Regions from separate parts of the Homo sapiens genome. Here region 2 is linked to region 1. Evidence: promoter capture Hi-C in 16 types of primary human blood cells and fetal thymus (Javierre and others, 2016). All regions are on one chromosome and are shown on one strand. Each heading gives the region's core, a stretch centred on a gene start or on the middle of the fragment in contact. The rest is flanking DNA. Distances are from core to core; before and after follow the strand shown.

Evidence for each region. Contacts are between HindIII fragments. The CHiCAGO score rates a contact against its expected background, and 5 or more counts as called.
Region 2: a contact is called between a fragment that was not itself captured here and the fragment with the promoter of GSTA3 in region 1, in 2 of 17 cell types (total CD8 T cells and M2 macrophages). The highest score is 6.0, in total CD8 T cells.

Annotation. Positions count from the first base shown.
Region 1 is chr6:52,908,345-52,911,116 of GRCh38, reverse strand. It overlaps GSTA3 (glutathione S-transferase alpha 3), which reads left to right and starts at 1,419. Exons shown (of 7, transcript NM_000847.5): 1 at 1,419-1,476. RefSeq lists enhancers at 529-1,222, 1,223-1,915. The HindIII fragment of the contact is 5,455 bases long and covers 1-2,772 here.
Region 2 is chr6:53,053,970-53,056,749 of GRCh38, reverse strand. The region is part of intron 1 of CILK1 (ciliogenesis associated kinase 1); the gene reads left to right. Among named protein-coding and RNA genes, the nearest start is that of CILK1, 6.5 kb to the left of the region's middle. The HindIII fragment of the contact is 905 bases long and covers 1,045-1,949 here.

The DNA of each region.
Region 1 (2,772 bases), core at 170-2,669:
ACCATGTCTCGGATATGAAATTATGGGTGGAAATGATCAGCTGAGACTGGAACAACTGCTGTGACATTTTGCAAAAAATGTATGTCGTCAATCGAGTCATGAGAAAACATCAGATAGACCCAAATTGAGGTACATTCCACAAAATAATTGACCATTACTCTTCAAAAATGCCACCATCATGAAAGACAAGAAAAGACTGAGGAACTGCCATAGTTTGGAGGTAACTAAGGAGATGTGACAACGAAATGCAGTGCTGGGGTCCTGGATGGGATCCTGGGTTAGAAAAAAGATACTGATTGAAAAACTGGTGAAATTCAAGTAAGGCCTGGAGTTTAGTCAATAGTGTATCAACATTAAATTCCTGGATTCAATCATTGTACTATGGTTACATAAGATGTTAACATTAGCGGATGCTGGGTGAGGGGTATTTGGGAAACTTGTACTAGTTTTGCAATTTTTCTGTTACATAAATAACTCCCCCACCCACAAGTTTAAAAGATACAGATTAGATTATAGAGGAAAAAAACTAAGTCTGAGATTTGCTTCAAATATTGTCAATAATTTTTGAAGCAAGGTGATGGGTACATCAAGGCTTTGTAGTGTTCTTTCCAGATTTATGTATATCAGACAATTTCCTTTAGAAAAGTAGAAATTACATATACGTGTATTAAGCCCTTTCTATGTCCAGGCACTGTGGTTAGCCACGGGGACTTGGTTAACCACCAGGACTTGAGGCCCTGCCTCAAGGAGCTCATACTCAACAGGGGGAAAGCAGACATGATGCACGGAATGTAGAAAGAGTGATGTGATAGAGGAAGCACAGGATGCCTTGGAGCAGGGGAGAAAAGAGTGCTCCAAATAGGAGAAACAGCATGCAGAGCCTTGGGCTAGGGAGAAAGGCTAACTGGTAAGTCACAGAGAAAAATCTGCAAATGACCTCGGGGAATGCAGCTGAGGTCTTTTGTCTGCCCAGGGCAAGGACAACTCAGCCAGATTCTTTGGGCCTATAAAATTTTGTGACATTATTTGTAATTTAGTCTTTTTAAACAAATTTAGAAGGCAATCTCCCTATGCTCTTTATCAAGTCCCCTTTCCTGACATCTCCTATGACTCTCCTATGACACTTTCCTCCTCTCCCCACAATGTTTTCTCATCTGTCATAAATCTGCAGCCTATTTAACAAGATCCTCCTTAAGCAGTGTTCACAGGATACTTGGTCCCCAGTGACCTTCTGAGGCAGCCAAATAGATATGAAATCTTTTTGTGCATTTATGGATAGCCTTGAAATTAATTGCTGTCATTTTCTTCCTAGCAGATCATGGAACTCTGGAGACTAAAGTGGTGTGGGAGTGGCTGCTCCCAACTAGACTCCACCCCCTTCAGAAGGCAGGAGTTGTCATAGTATTAAAACAGCTAACATACACATCAGGAGGTGGCCTTGAGAAGCTGAGCGGAGACCGGCTAGACTTTACTCAAGTTAGTATTGACCTTAAACATCTTCATAAATGTTCTCATGTCTACTTCACTAAGAAAAACAAATTTAAATGTGTTAGTTTGTGTGAGTACTTTATGTTCTTGCTGTTTTTCTGTGTGCTTAGGAGACAATTTAAGCATTGTTTGTTAGTTCCTGAAGGACAGGTCGGTAAAGAAAAATAATATTCAACAATTTAGAAAACAAGGGCAAAGAATTTGATGATATGAGAAAAGTAAGAGTGGTATCATTGTGGGCAATCTGAAAATACAACCACATCAGTGCCAGGCCACATGCCAAAGGTTGCTTATGGAAAAGCTGTTTATTAAAAACATGTATTCGTGTGATTCATTCCTGTGATTCACAGGAGTCAACACACAATTATACTAGATTTAAAGCTGGCAGGGTCACACATTTGGGAGCACCACTTGATCAATGAAAAGAAAATACATCTGGATGGTCGTATTCCTCTAGAGCTGGCACTTCCAAATGGGAAACCAATCACCAATGCTTGACAATCAGGATCTAAATTTACACTTCCATCATTGATTTTACACAGATTAGTTTACTGCTTATATAAGTGACTTTGTGATTGAGCACCAAGCAGCATGCTATTTTTCCTTCTTCTTCTCCTCCTTCTTCCCTCCTTCTCTTTGTTCTCTTTGCCCTCTTTCTTCTTCCTCCTCCTCTTTTTCCTCTTCTGCCTCTTCTTCCTCCTCCTCCTTCTTGTTCGAAGTATCTGGGACCAAAGGGTGAGCAGGGTTTAAAGTCTCAAAATTGCAAGTGAATCTAAATATATAGGACTTTTAGGGTAGTAGGCAAGTAGATCTAAGAATAATAATAACCCCCTCTTAAGCTGTTATATTCCCTGTCCAACAGAACATGCACATTCCTTCTATATGCAAGTTCTTTCTATTTGCCAAATGAAATATTACCCTGGGCTACCCTGCCAAAGCACTTATCCAATTAAAAAAAAATATTTTTTGTGTAGTCACGATGTTTCTACTATGTGGGAGAGTTTGGTTGCTTTGATAATTCTTTTTAAACAGCAGATTGGTGGGTTTCATAATTAGGATTGGTTATTTTATTGCCATAATCCTAGCTTGGCTTTTTTCATGCTTTTTGTTTGTTTTGAGACAGTCTCATTCTGTCACCCAGGCTGGAATGCAGTGATGTGGCCATGTTTCACTGCAGCCTTAACATCTTGGGCTCAAGTGATCTTCCTGCCTCAGCCTCCTGGGTATCTGGGACTACAGGTGTGGGACACCAATCCTGGCTAATTTTTTTTTTAAATAGAGACT
Region 2 (2,780 bases), core at 248-2,747, 150 kb before region 1:
GTCTTTATTGTGAGTCCGTACTTGTGCCAACTATGCCAGTTCTCTGGGAACTGAGTACTGGGAATACAGTTGTGAATATTGCAACGTTTCTGACCTCACAGAGCTTATATTCTAAGGTTAAACACAGCTTGTATGTAGCCCTGTAACCTAGGGGTAAGTGAGGGCTCTATGGAGAGTACTAAAGTGCTTCTGCTTATTTGGGGGATTTCCTCATCTTCAGGGCTTGACAAACTATGGCTTGTGTGCCAGTCCTTCCTGCTGCCTGTTTTTGTAAATAAATTTGTACTGGAACACAGCCATGCCCATGTATTTACATATTGTCTTTGACTGCTTTCATGCTACAATGGCAGAGTGGAGTTGTGACGGAGATGGAGAGCCTGCAAAGCCTATCCTGTTTACTGACCCTTCACAGAAAAAACGTGCTTATCCCTGCCCTATTTTATTTTTACATTAAGCCTTTACTTCCTTTAATTCATTTTGATTTTTTGTATACATGCTAGCAAAGCATCTTACACTGAGATCAGCTCCTTAGTCAAATGTGTTGTAATAGCATATAAATACTGATAACATGTGGCTGTCCTTGTAACTACCGTAAAAGATAATGCGTTAGAACCAGAAAGGTAAAGTATTATTGTGTAACGTCCAGCTACTTATTTGCCAGTATCATGAAAGTTACTATCTACATGAACTTGTGATATGCTCTTAGTCACTCCCCTATCTTCACTATCCCTTATCTTGCCCACCCCTGAAACACAGGCAAGCAGGACTATTGCCACCCTCGGCAGTTTTCATTAAGCTGGGGACTCTCGTTCTAGCTCATCTACAGTTTCACACATGGCAGGGTAAAGGTTTGTTTTTCTGGCTGTTTTTTTATTTTTTATTTTTTTTAACATTTCGCCTTTACTTCAGTTCTTTACAGTCCACCAAAGCCAACTATGTGTCCTAGTTTAAAAATCATCTGCAAGTGATTGAAGAACTTTTTTAAGGTTCAAGGCGTGAGCACCTTTTATATTGTAAGAGAAGCGACAGGGAGTTATGGAAGCTTCTCATGGGATTAAGGACCTAGTGCAGGACGAGTTCTTTTTTCAGAAGCTGGGATTGAAAGAGGAGAGGGATGGTAAAGGTATGAAGAAGTTTCTGGGGCACAGAAGAAGGCACATCATGTAACGGATTATCTTCTCTTGTTAACATCCAGTTGATGCAATAGCTGAATGCATCTTTAATTCACTCCTCTGTCAAGGTAAAGACAAAGCAAGATCCATGTAAAGAAGGTCCTTTTGGCTTTGTAACTGCTATTCCTTATGCAGAAAAAAAGCAGTAGTCCAAGAGGCAAAATGCTTAAAAGGTTTGCTTGCTAAAATGTACAGAGGCAGAAGAATTAGGTCCAGGAGAAAAACATAAACCCGGATATACTATTTCTAGTACCTTTTTAAAAGAAATTAACAGTATTCACTGACTTTTGTAAAGTTAGGACACATTCAAACCTAGAATACGAAGTCTAATTATAAACCTGTAAAGGTAAAATGGAACTCAGAATTACCATGAGAAGGGTCATCTAATGATTTTGCATATAATCCACTTTTCCTAGGAGGATAAATGAAAGTAACAGAATCTTTTCAATGTAAGATAATTAATGCAAAGGGAGACAAGCTCCTTCTAAGGAACTGAATGGTGTCAGTGGGCCTGGTAAACCACAACTCCCAGAGAACCCCAAGTTTGCTGTAACTTTTTGTCTCCTGTCTTAGAAAATGTGTAATGATGGCATTAATTCATTGATTAAGGTTTCAAAATAAAGAATGAACTACAATTTTCCCTGCCCCTCGCCTCCATTTTTTAGGCTGTGAATGAGCAAGGCACCTGATGTGAGCTGCTGGCCATGAGCAAATGTTCTTTGCCTCCACCGAGGATTGACGCTGAGGGGAGGGAATTGGGGCAAATCACAGGAAGCTTTTCCCCAATGTCACCTAGCCAGGAACATCATAACATTGACTTCAAAGGTTTGCTGGAACTCTTTGAAAGAGAGATAAAGCTGTCTTTCTTTGGTAGTTGAGTACAGCCTTACCCAAAGGCCAAAGGCCTGATCTGACCGCATGGAGGGGGACTTTCTGTGATCCTCTGAGACTCAGTCATCTTGGCATTGTTGTGGGAGGGCCCAGGCTGCCTGCCTGCCCCAGCTATTCTGTGGTATTCACTGTTCTTCCACTTCAGAACTTCAGAACTTTTAGTTGGGCCCAACAGTTTATCTTTGTTTTGTGTATGACAAAATAGAAGCACTGAGAATTTTGAGGTACTTAGCCAAGGTGGTACAGAAAATAATAGCAAAGACTAAAACTCACATTTGGGCCCTTCAAACAATCTTTGAGGACTTGCTACTGCAAGTGGAGTGAGAAGACAAAGATGAAGCAGTCTTGGAGAGTGTCGAGGCTGAAGCAGAGGGTACACCTGCAGGTCATTGCCACGGGGAAGGGGCTGGCAGTGAGGTGAGGACAAGGCACTATGGCATCAAGGGAGAGGACCATTCTCGGGTCTATATGTGTAGGTTGGGGCAGGAGGCTTGGAAGAGGTGACATGTGAGCTCGAAAGAGAAGGAATCGATGTTTAATGTTTACTGGGGCCTGGCTGAGGCACTGGGGCACTTGTGCATCTCTTGAAAGAAAGGTGTGTAGCATACAGGGTCCTTCGGTGGCACTGTCTTCTCCGCTAACCTTTGTTCATGTGATGCAAAAAGCAGAAACATTTATCCTTTTTTTTTTCTTAGACAAATGCTAGCTCAATTCCTG